Linked DNA regions of Homo sapiens: regions 1, 2 and 4 are each linked to region 3. Evidence: promoter capture Hi-C in 16 types of primary human blood cells and fetal thymus (Javierre and others, 2016). All regions are on one chromosome and are shown on one strand. The core of a region is centred on a gene start or on the middle of the fragment in contact, and the rest is flanking DNA. Distances in the headings are between cores, read along the strand shown. Region 1 holds the start of MRPL51 (mitochondrial ribosomal protein L51). Region 2 holds the start of CD27-AS1 (CD27 antisense RNA 1). Region 3 holds the start of ATN1 (atrophin 1). Region 4 holds the start of VAMP1 (vesicle associated membrane protein 1).

Region 1 (2,924 bases), core at 146-2,645, 430 kb after region 3:
TTTTTATGTGCAAAGCTCCTTAAGTATAGAGAGAATGGTCTGATCTCGTCTGAGGCCAAAACAGTGCCCCAGCATGGGCTAGTGGGCTTCCTGCACCAGAATGGTAAGAGCATTAACAATGATGATTTATTTATCCTGTGCCAAGTCTGTTAGGCTGTTTGCATGTATCATATCTGATCTAAGTATCCTAACCTCAATCCCATGAGGTGCATAATAATACAAATGAGTTTACAGAGCGGAAATTGAAGTAAGAAAGTTAAGCGATTTGCTTAACATCTTCCGTTGCGGATCTGTTAAGCGATTTGCTTAACATCTTCCGTTGCGGATCTGTTAAGCGATTTGCTTAACAACTTCCGTTGCGGATCTGTCAGACTTACAGTTTCTCACACATCGCGCCCCAGGGATATACTTACTAGGCCTATTGTATTTTGCCCAAGACTGGGTCACACTGCCATGTACTCGACTTTCCTACTCTTTTACGACCTGCAACACCACATCTTACCTGGGGATCTCACCCGCGGCTCTGATTCCGGCAGTCAGGCTGAAATGAAAAGGAAAAAACACGCGTGCACAACACGCACCAATTAGCAAGGCAGTTTTCAAGTCGGCGGAGAATCCGGCCAATCCCCGGCAGGCAGAGGCAAAGGGCCGCCTCTGAGTCTGGCAACGCGCGGGCAAAGCCACAAATACCGAGTTCAAATCTCAACGGCTGCAGGACGGCCAATCGCGACGCCCGCCGGAGCGGCCGGCCAATCACAGCGCCGCCCGGGGGCGGGCCAAGGCTCCGGCTCCGGCCCCCGCTCCCACCCCCGGCCCGCCTGCGAATCCCTCCTTGGCCGCAAGGTCCCCCTTTGCCCAGTCGGCGGGGAGGAGGCCGTATTTCTGCTGGCCAGAGACGTCGCGTCCCTGGCTGGGCATTCAGTCACCCCCAGGAAAGGAGGCAAGTCCACGCTGGGAGTTAGAAGGCATCGCCTCTAATCCAGGTTTCGCCATCTCCTCTGCTAAGTGACGTCCAGCAAGTCACTTCACTTTCAGGACCTCAAATCTCCTCCCCAGTAGTAAAATAGGGGTAATAAAAACAGCTACAGCGGAAGACTGTTGTGAGGCACAGAGAAAGGGCTTGGTCATTGGAAGCGGGTTCCAGGTTCTCAACCTTCATTTCCTTCACGGTTGAAGGACGCCAAAGAAAGCGGAAAGGGTGAATTTTCTTGAAATCTCAGTTTTGGGGAATCTTAGCGACGAGTCGCGGACCTCAGCTTGTCCGGCGCTCCAAAACTTCCGGCAGGCGGACCGGAAGCACTGAGGCGGGAAGGGTGGTAGAGGCCCCTCCTGCCGGAACCCGGGGGGCGGGGCTCGTGGCTGTTGCGGATGGGGCGTAGGTGGGCGGTGCGCCCACAGCTGCCTGGGTAAGGCCCAAGATGGCTGTCTTCGCCTTAGTACTCGTGTGAAGTTGGCGGGGACGGTTCCTGTCATCTTCTTGGGCTTATTTGGTGTGCTGTTGAAGGGGGGAGACTAGAGAAATGGCAGGGAACCTCTTATCCGGGGCAGGTAGGCGCCTGTGGGACTGGGTGCCTCTGGCGTGCAGAAGCTTCTCTCTTGGTAAGTGGCTGATGTAGGCACCCCGATAACTGCTTCGTAGTATAATAGGCGGCTCAGATTAATTCCCTCCCTTCCCCATCCCCAGGTGTGCCTAGATTGATCGGTATAAGGCTCACTCTCCCGCCCCCCAAAGTGGTTGATCGTTGGAACGAGAAAAGGGCCATGTTCGGAGTGTATGACAACATCGGGATCCTGGGTAAGACTTGACCTTCGACGTGGTACACAATTTCAGAATGGCAATTAGGCTGTAACGACTATCTTTTCCTCCTGTGTAGAGAGTGGTACTGTGCTCAATAGTAAGAGCAAACACTTATGTAGCTGTTTACATTGTGTTTGGCACTGTTCTGAGTCCCCTCGTATAATTTTTACTTCATAAGTAAAAATAAACAGTTTTTCCAAAGTTAATAAATGGCAGCATCAGAATTTTAACCCCAAGCAGTCTGGCTCCAGAGTCTGTGCTATTGTTCTGTACTGTAATGTTCCTTGTCTATAGGTGCTGCTCAGCAAGATGCAACCGTGGGTTGAAAGCTTAGCTGGTGTAGGATGAGTTCTCTTGTCTTGGATCTAATGTGTTCTCTCACATTACACAGGAAACTTTGAAAAGCACCCCAAAGAACTGATCAGGGGGCCCATATGGCTTCGAGGTTGGAAAGGGAATGAATTGCAACGTTGTATCCGAAAGAGGAAAATGGTTGGAAGTAGAATGTTCGCTGATGACCTGCACAACCTTAATAAACGCATCCGCTATCTCTACAAACACTTTAACCGACATGGGAAGTTTCGATAGAAGAGAAAGCTGAGAACTTCGGAAAAGGCTCATCTGTCACCCTGGAGAAGGGAAACTGTACTTTTCCCTGTGAGGAAACGGCTTTGTATTTTCTCTGTAATAAAATGGGGCTTCTTTGGAATTTGATAGCCACATACTTTTGTTTTCCTCTAGATGCTGCCTCTACTCATGTAGACTATGAAGTCTTGACTCATCCTAGATCTTAGGATCTTAGGTTTGGGCTTCACACCACTTGCCTTTTACAGTCTAGCTATACCTAATTCCTTTAAAAAGAAAAGTTGGTGAGAATGTTATTGGCGCTTTTTGACATAATGCTGTTATGTTAATAGTGTTTCTAAAGAGCCTTCCACACTGAAATGAAATATAAGAGAAAAATGGAGTCATACTTCTGTACTACTCTCATAAAATATTTATTAGGCATATTCTCTGAGTAGGAACTATAGGAAAAACAAAAAAGTGTGAGGTGTCCTTTCCATTTAAATATGAAACATTAAGTACCATATGAATGGTAGAGATGGCGGATACTAAGCCTGACTGG
Region 2 (2,700 bases), core at 201-2,700, 480 kb after region 3:
AGTTGCCATCCAAGATCCTAGCTGTTTCTGTGTCCCTCTATTCTCCCGTCATCCCCAAACCAGCTTTCTGGAGAGCACCTGCTAGTCCAGGCAAATACTTCTTGGTGAGAGTTAAAGTCCTGGATTTGCCTTGCTCAGAGGAGTTTATGCTTGCATTTCCAACTGTTGAATAAAAGACTATCTTTTCAGTCAAAGGAATTCTCAGAAAACAAGCAAGTGCCACCGCAGAGAGAGGAGACTGGACAGTTACTGTTGCTGGGGCACTGACAGCCTGCACTGCTTTCTCCCATTTCGGGTAGCCTTCCCCTCCCCCGCCTTCAAGGTCACCTTCCAAGTGATTTCCTCACCTGGGGAGTCCTTTCCTCTTCTGAAGTGTCAGCTCCCAGGCCAGTGCCCTCTCTGTAGGACAGTGGCTCCTGACCACAGCCACAGAGGCAGCCCCTCTTTAGCATTTTCCCTGTGGAGTCCCCACCCTCCCTCCACACACACTATTGGTTCCTTCCTTTGCCAGCCGCTGAGCCTTTCCCCTGTTGGGCTTAGAAGGCGATGGGGTCATCCCCGGCCCCTTTGCTCTTCTGGAATCTCGGGGAGGGTGGCACCCTGGGGCTTCAGTAGCTCTTCTCCCAGCCAGCTCTCCCCGACTCCCAGACTCACTGGTTTCTGCTGCTCCAGATAGAGCCAGGCAGAGCAGCAGGCACCAGCCCTCCTGTGTGCCCATGGAGGCTGCTCTCGAGTTCCCTCCTTGCCCACCGCCCTTCTCCACAGTCCTACGCTGCTTGCGAGGCCCGGCGGAAGAAGGGGGCTCTCCAAGCACACCTGGCAGCCTGCAGCCTTTAGGTTTCTTCCCTGTTCCCTCTGCTGCCGACTTTTCTTTCACTTTCACTTAGAGCAAGATGGCAGCCCGCGTCCCTGTGTGAAGCCGTCTGCAGCAGCTGCCAGAGCCCTGCTTGCTGTTTCCTTTCTCACCACCCACCTCACCCGGAAATCCCCTGGTGATTTCAAGACCTGACCTCTGCACCCTTTTGCTCCCCACCTGTCCCAAAAAAGTGGAGCTATAACTGTGGGAAAAGGGGATCTGAAGTCAGACACAGGATCCACAGTAGCCTGGGGACCTTTCTCACCCCCGCCCTTAAGCAGGCCCCAACATAACCGGCTGAGAAACCTCCTCTGCCAGATCCTGACCTGAGCCAGGAGGCGGCCAGGAAACTGGATTTTGGGACTGGGATTTCAGAGAGGAAGCTGGAGAGCTGCAGGGTGGTCATCTGTCACTTTATTTTGCCCGTCTTGTAGCATGTGGGTCTTTCGCAGCAGGAAGTGTGTTTTACAACCAGAGCCCCCGCCCTCCTGCAGCGCAGGCGCAGCTGGCTGGGCTCCTGCTTCCCACTCTCCACCTCATCCATATTTGTCCTCGTCCCTGCCAGTCTCGAAAAGGCACTCTGTCACGTGTACACAGGAAAGGGCCCTGACAAGAGGATGGGACTGCAGTTGTGGCTGCCAGGTCTCACTCTCCCTTGGATGGTCGGCGGGGTGGGGGTGGAGGCCAGGGCTGTAGTGCAGCTCCCGCAGGTGCTGGCTCAGGGGGAGCAGGCAGGCTCCGGTTTTCGGTAATCCTCCTGGATGGGGATGGTGCTGCCCTCCTCCTCCCTGGGGCAGCTGTAATGACAAGGCTCTGCAGGCTCCACAGGACTTTCTCCTTTGTCTGCAGAAGGAGATCCGATGAGTCTTGGCCAGCAGTGGGGGCAGGGGGAGACGGGAGAAGGAGATGGGTAGAGGCGGGTGCGCTTGGGGGAGGGGTGTCAGGAGCACGCCAGCTAAGGGGAGAGAAGGGGTAGGACCAAGGCTGGTGAAGTGGAGCTGGTGGGTTTCAGTGAGATTCCAGGCGTGGGCAGTGGGGTTGAGCCAGTGGGGTGTGGTGCAGGGGCAGGACCGGAGGCCTGTGTTCTGTCTCTTACTTGATCTATATTTCCTTCGTTGATGGAGGAACAGGGCCCCGGCCAGGGTGAAAACAAGGAACATTCCAGAGAAGATCACAAGGATGCGAATAAAATCGGAGCTGCACAGGGATCTTTGGGCTGTAATAGGAGGGGACACACAGGGGTTAGGGGAGGGTCTAGCCCTTGGCTCCCTCAGCCCAGCCCTCCTGTCACCTTGCCTCTCCCCTTTCCCCCACCTTATTCTATCCCACCCGCCACCGTTGGCCAACTCCTCTCCTAAACAGTGGACTCTGCTTTTTCCCCTCCTCTTATCCCTAATCCTAGGAGCTTTCTGTCTGGCTTCCCTCCTGGCCCCTCGTGTATGCATTCTCTCTAGCGGTGGGGATTAAGGAGAAAACTCACGTGGCCAGTGGGTAGAGAGAGTCCGGGCAGGCAGCTGCCTGAAGTCAGCCAGAGTCTGCATGTGCCCAGCTGTCCTGGCCTCCAGCATCTCTGGAAAAACAGAGACAGAATGAGTAGCAGCAGGGGACCCCATAGGGCACATCTGAAGGCCTGAGAGGTGCTGGATGGGATGGGAAGGCAGAAACAGGCTGACCTTATCTAGGGGTAGGAGTGGGGAGTACTGGTTGGGGTATCACCGCTACCCCACGTGATGGCACAGAGAGTTGCCTGGAACTTACCACTGACATAAGGTAAGTGGGTGGGCTGAGGGTGTGGGCTCAGGGCCTGAGACGACCGAGCGGTCAGCGAAGGGTTTGGAAGAGGA
Region 3 (2,700 bases), core at 160-2,659:
CCTCTGGCCCCACAGGCCTCCTCCGGAGACCCTCCCTCCTTCCCCACCTTCCCGATCCTCCCGAAACCCTGGCCCCCGACTCTCCTCGGCGGGCCCCACCCCCTGAGCCCCCGGCCCTCAGGCCAGGCAGAGCCCGCAGTGGGGGGACGGGATTGGGAAAATAACAAATGGAGGCGGCGGCGGCAGGAGGGGGAACTGGGAGGGGTGGGGGTGGGGAGCCGCAGGCCGGAGCCCGGGCGGGACAGAACCCCGCGGGCCCGGGGCCCAGGCGGCCGCAGACCTTACCTGCTGGTAGCTCGGGACGGCTGGCTGGCTCCGAGCGGGATTCCGGGCTCCGGCGCCTCTGGGGGGCGGCGGCGGCAGCTCCCCCGCCCCCCTCTCCTCTTCTCGGCCTCAGTCGCCGCCGCGACGACGGCGGCGGCGGCCCCGACCCCCCCGGAGGGCGGCCCCCATCCCCCCTTTTCCCCGCCTGGCCCCAATCGCCCGCCGGCCCCCGGAGCAAACCCCGATCCCCGCTCTGCTCCCCACCTCCCCGGGCTCGCCGCCTCCCCCTGGCCGCCCGGAATGCCCCGGGCCGCGCCGCCCGCCCCCGCCGCGCCGCCCGGCCCCGCGGCCCGCCCGGCCCTCGGCGCGGTTCCGACCCGCCGCCGCCCGCGCCCGCCTAGCGCAGCCCGCACCCGCGCGATCCCGGGCCCCTCGGCCGCCTCGCCCGCGGCCCCCGCCCCTTCCCCGGCAGTCGGCTCCCTCTCCCCCCTCCTAGCCCCTCCCCGAAGCCGCGGTCCCTCCGAAATGGCCCGGCCCGAGGCCCCGACCCGGCGCGGGGCTGCGGACGGGCTGGGCGGTGCGTCCGGCGACTCGCACAGGAAAGCGGACGGCGAAGGGAGGGAGCCTGGGAGAGGGGGATGGGAGAAGGGAGGAAGAGGGAGAAGGAGGGAGCGCGGAGGAACGGAGGAGAGAGGGGCCAGGAGGGAGACGCGAGGGAGGGAGCGCGAGGCAAGCCGCGAGGGGGGAGAGAGGGGGAGCCGGAGAGGGGGAGGCGCAGCGCGAGTTGGCCGAGGCCGAGGCCGAGGGGGCCGGGGCGCGGGGAGGGCTAGCCGTGGCGGAATGTGGGGAGCCCGCGGGCCCGGCGCGGGAGAGGGCTAGGTAGGAGGGGCTGTGGGTGGTGAGGGCAGATGAGGGGAGGCTGAAGTTTGGGGGCGAGCGGGTCTGTGGCAGAGGTGAAGTGGGAGGAGTTTGGGGGATCCTGGGGTAGAGATTGGGATAATGGGATTGGATTGGAAAGATGGAGCTGCCTGGGGGCTTTGTGGGTGCCTGGTGAGAAGTGAGAGAAGCTTGGGGTGAGGGATCTGTGGCAGAGATGGAGCCAGACGGGTTTGGGGGCTATTATCAGAGAGAATGGGATGGAAGTTTGGGGTCATAAGGAGAGAGAAAAATTGAAAAGATGACATATATAGAAAGATGGGGCTTCTGGAAAAAGTAAAGCTTTTGGGGGTGATTAGTGTTGACAAAAGAGTCATAAATATAAGAATTGGGGGTGGGGGGATGAAGGAATGCTGGAGAGAGAGAAGTCCAGAGGAAACGTCAGTGAGGAGAGAGAGGAGGGAACGCGTGAGGAACCTTAAGAAGGGATGAACGAGGTGGGCCCAGGTGCCAATTCTAGGGAAAATAGGTTCTGGGTGAGAAAGGAGGGCTCTGGATGGGAAAGAAGGGTGGGAGACACCGGGCTGGCTGGATCCTGGGGGTGGGGGCTCCCAGTAGAGCCGAGGAGGGTTTACTTGGGCGGGCAGAATGGGGAAGAGGGGGATAAGAAGATTGGAAGGAAATGTAAGCTGAACAAGGCCTATGGCTGGCGGCAGTATGGAAGAGGAAAGATCATGGATGGGAAAAGAAAATGGAGATGGGGCCGGTGCGGGGGCTCACGCCTGTAATCTCAGCACTTTCGGAGGCTGAGTCGGGTGGGTCACTTGTCAGGAGTTCAAGACCAGCCTGGCCAACATGGCGAAACCCCGTCTCTACTAAAAATACAAAAATTAGCCGGGTGTGGTGGCGCATGCCTGTAATCCCAGCTACTCAGAGGCTGAGGCAGGAGAATCCTTGAACCTGGGAGGCAAAGGTTTCAGCAAGCAGAGATCGCGCCACTGCACTCCAGCCTGGGAGACAGAGCGAGACGCCGTCTCAAAAAAAAAAAGAAAAAATGGAGATGGGAAACGAGGGCAGTTAAAGGAAATGACAGATGTGGGAGCGGGGGGAGGTTGCTGGCAAGCTCATGGGTAGATAGGTAAGGGATACAGCTTGGAGGAGTGAGACACCATCCTCAGGCCTTCCATCTAGTGGCATCTCCATTTTCCTTCTCAAATCTGTTGAAAGTCATCACTAAAGATCCCCTGGGTCACAGGGAAGCAGTCGGGTGAAGACTGGGCTTAATGTGGACCCAAATCCCTGGGTATCCTTGTTGCTCAATCCCACTTGTTCTAAGGTGGAGACAGTCCCCACCACAGACTGCAGGCTCCTCCCAACCCTTCCTCTCCCTCCCCTGCTCTCCAGGTAGCCTCTGGCAGTCAGTCTGCTCCCGGCCGTGAAGCCAGCACCTCCGCCAGCCCACCACCAGTTCCTTCTCCTGGGCTCCCTCCTGGCCCTCCACCAAGCGGCAACATCTCCCAGGACAAAGGACACAGGGTGATTTTTGGCAGCAGAAATTGG
Region 4 (2,806 bases), core at 185-2,684, 460 kb after region 3:
CCAAAGCCCTTATGAAATGCACAGAGGACTACATTGCGTGGAAATTAGTGGACATCCAAGACTGAGTCAAAAAAGTGAATCATTAACAATCAGTCTCTGTGAAGTTTTAGGGATAGTTACCATGTTATTGTTTTCTATTTCCCTTTTTATGCATGCACAAGAGTGAAATATAGAAATCGGTATGTATATAAACCCATATTTTCAATACATGTAAAACAAAAATGCTAAGTGGTAAGGAAAGCATTTGTCACAGATAATTTGCAACCTTTTTTCTTTTTTTTTTTGAAACAGGGTCTTGCTCTGTTGCCCAGGCTGGAGTGCAGTGGCGTGATCTCGGCTCACTGCAACCGTCGGCTCCCGGCTTCAAGCGATTCTCTTATCTCAGCCTCACGAGTAGCTGGGATTACAGGCGCCCGCCACCATGCCTGGCTGTTTTGTATTTTTAGTAGAGACAGAGGTTTCGCCATGTTGGCCAGGCTGGTCTCGAACTCCTGATCTCAGGTAATCTGCCTGACTCGGCCTCCCAAAGTGCTGGGATTACAGGTGTGAGCCACTGCGCCCGGCCTTGTAACCTTTTTTCTTAGCGGGACATAAAATAATGGTGAATTTTCCAACTGATGGAGTCCAGGAAAGGGATAATAGTGAGCAGAGGGGAGATAATCACTGGAATGCCAAGAAGGAAAAATCAACTCGATTTGGCAGATTACTGGGGGAGAGGTAAAGGTGAAGGGGAGGAAATCTAGGATGGTTTCCACGTTTCTGGTCTGGGCAACTGAGTCGATGTGGTAACCTCGACTGGAGCAGGTTTGGGAGGGAGTTCAATTTAGGAAGGCTATGTTGAAAGAAACGAATGAACGAAAGCTTCGTGCTTGCTTTGGTGGGACGGAACCCCGCATCCGGTATCTGGCACCAGGAGCTTGTGGCTGTGTCTCGAGGCTCCTGCACCCTCTCAGAGCGTTAGTTAGAGGCGGGGCGGTGGTGCGGAGCGAGGGCCAGAGCAGGGCACCAGGGCTGGGCGCGCACCAGGAAGCCGCCGCCTCCAGCTGAATGCGCGAGTCCCGGCGCGGGGTGGGGCAGGGGCGGGCACGGTCTTCAGTAACTGCCTAGCGATTGGTTGGGAGGCACCACAAATGCCTAACAAACTGCTGAAGCGCCCTCCGAAGGGACAGACCTCATCTCCACCCCGCCCCGTCCCTCCGCCAGACTGGAGCGCAAACTATGGTCGCATTGATCACTGAAGGATCCTCACAGCAACCGCTCCTTTCCGGAGTCGGATGAGAGGAGAGTTGTGACTGGCAATTGGCAGGGGCGGGGCGGGCTAGGCCTGTAGCGCTGGGCGACCGTCCTGGGCATGGATTGGGCCGCGGGGTTGTCACCGTTATCCGGGAGGCGTGGTCAGCACTAATAAAGGCGGAGGCCGGCGCGGCAGCTGCAGTAAGTTCCAGCGCAGCTAGACCGCGGGGTAGTCGGCGCGAGGCGGAGCTTGGCAGTTCCGTCCACTTCAGCCGCAGCGTCCCTCACCGGGTGTCTCGCCGCAGCCTCCGGAGAGGAACAGACCCTCACTCTCTCTGTCAGAAAAATGTGAGTTGACTCTGGTGTGGGGGCTCGGCACCTCCTTGACAACTCTCGCCCCAAGCTCCCGATTCTGCGGGACGGAAAATGGCGCAATGCAGCAGCTGCAGCAACGCGGGGAACTACCACCGCGCGCCGCTTCCGGACCGGGCCACCCCCAGGGAGGGGGGCCAGCACCCCATTCTCGCACCAGCCACAGCTAGCACCCCACGGGCGGGGCAGGGGCGCAGGGGTCCCACAATCATTGCACCCTCTCCTCTCGTCTGAGTGGCGCCTCATTCTGGTTTTGGTATAGTGGAGACTCGGAGAGGGCGGGGGCTGGGGGTGGTGGATGGAGACAACTGGGCAGGGGACTCGAAAGGTATTTCTGTCATCTGGCTAAATCACTACTCAGCGCCTCAGGAAAGACAGTCATGGGTGCAACTGCCAGTTGGTAACTTATGTTGCCCTACAATCTCTGGATTTGTTTACCCCTCACCCAAAGTGTGATGTCTAGCCCCCCTCATGGCAGTGAGCAAAGCTGCAGAAACTTATCTGCCAGTTCTCTGGCACCAGGTGAGCAGCTCAGAAAGACTCAAGGGGTAGTGGGATAGTGGCCTGTCATCCCAAGCGGCTGTTCATACCAAGGCCATTCGTATAGGAGATGTTTTTCTATCACCGAGTCTTACCAAATAGTTGGAGGAGAAATAGGGAGAGCTGAGCTTTCCCCCTTTCCTCCAACACACACAGTTTAGTCTCCAGCAGTCTTCAACATCACCCCCTTCGCATGATCTTGAGGGAAAACTACGGCTAAACAAACGAAGTACTTCTCTGTCAAGACCTCAATATGTCTAATACAGATTTTTCTTTCTGATTACTACCCTGGCCTGGTCCTAGATGTATTTATGTTGCTTCTCTAAGTGACAAAAAAGGGAAAGATTTACTTGTGTTACATAAGGGTTGTAATTATCCCTAGATATTTTACTGTTGAGTGTTTCCAACTCCCAACAAGTAGTAAGTGAAATTGGCCTTGCAAATACTTCATAGCCATTTCACTTTTTCTTTTTGATTTCTATGGTTTTAACCAGATATGAGTGTTCTATGCATTTTGGGCAAGCCGTAGAATTCCAGTTGTTTTCATTTTGGGGAGGGGGCTTCCAGATAGTATCTACGTGGGATGAACAGAAGGCAACAGAAAAATCGTGGTGGCTAGCGGGGCATCACGAGGTCTCTGACCTTAATCTTGTCATTGGTG

The links. The method cuts DNA at HindIII sites, captures the fragments that hold promoters and counts their contacts. A CHiCAGO score of 5 or more calls a contact.
Region 1: a contact is called between the fragment with the promoter of MRPL51 here and a fragment that was not itself captured in region 3, in 1 of 17 cell types (non-activated CD4 T cells). The highest score is 5.3, in non-activated CD4 T cells.
Region 2: the fragment with the promoter of CD27-AS1 here is called in contact with a fragment that was not itself captured in region 3 in 2 of 17 cell types (non-activated CD4 T cells and total CD8 T cells); the score reaches 7.0 in non-activated CD4 T cells.
Region 4: the fragment with the promoter of VAMP1 here is called in contact with a fragment that was not itself captured in region 3 in 1 of 17 cell types (non-activated CD4 T cells); the score reaches 6.0 in non-activated CD4 T cells.

The regions. Positions count from the first base shown.
Region 1 is chr12:6,491,733-6,494,656 of GRCh38, reverse strand. It overlaps MRPL51 (mitochondrial ribosomal protein L51), which reads left to right and starts at 1,395. Exons shown (of 3, transcript NM_016497.4): 1 at 1,395-1,599; 2 at 1,685-1,795; 3 at 2,190-2,771. The coding sequence starts at 1,521. The coding sequence ends at 2,386. It overlaps NCAPD2 (non-SMC condensin I complex subunit D2), which reads right to left and starts at 555. Exons shown (of 32, transcript NM_014865.4): 1 at 503-555. RefSeq lists a silencer at 598-927 and enhancers at 363-960, 1,128-1,177. The HindIII fragment of the contact is 4,003 bases long and covers 1-1,590 here.
Region 2 is chr12:6,450,267-6,452,966 of GRCh38, reverse strand. CD27-AS1 (CD27 antisense RNA 1) reads left to right here and starts at 1,450. Exons shown (of 6, transcript NR_015382.2): 1 at 1,450-2,626. It overlaps CD27 (CD27 molecule), which reads right to left. Exons shown (of 6, transcript NM_001242.5): 3 at 2,615-2,700; 4 at 2,337-2,426; 5 at 1,953-2,072; 6 at 1,254-1,699. The coding sequence ends at 1,575. TAPBPL (TAP binding protein like) reads right to left here and starts at 925. Exons shown (of 7, transcript NM_018009.5): 1 at 655-925. The coding sequence starts at 718. RefSeq lists enhancers at 626-1,225, 1,656-1,815, 1,906-2,115. The HindIII fragment of the contact is 9,942 bases long and covers 1-2,700 here.
Region 3 is chr12:6,925,970-6,928,669 of GRCh38, reverse strand. It overlaps ATN1 (atrophin 1), which reads right to left and starts at 711. Exons shown (of 10, transcript NM_001940.4): 1 at 286-711. It overlaps LOC124902868 (a long non-coding RNA gene), which reads left to right and starts at 974. Exons shown (of 2, transcript XR_007063194.1): 1 at 974-1,143; 2 at 2,545-2,700. RefSeq lists silencers at 713-872, 1,053-1,102 and an enhancer at 2,127-2,700. The HindIII fragment of the contact is 151 bases long and covers 1,334-1,484 here.
Region 4 is chr12:6,469,305-6,472,110 of GRCh38, reverse strand. It overlaps VAMP1 (vesicle associated membrane protein 1), which reads left to right and starts at 1,434. Exons shown (of 5, transcript NM_014231.5): 1 at 1,434-1,581. The coding sequence starts at 1,580. It also overlaps a transcript of TAPBPL not described here. RefSeq lists silencers at 883-1,142, 1,353-1,402, 1,903-1,952. The HindIII fragment of the contact is 5,218 bases long and covers 864-2,806 here.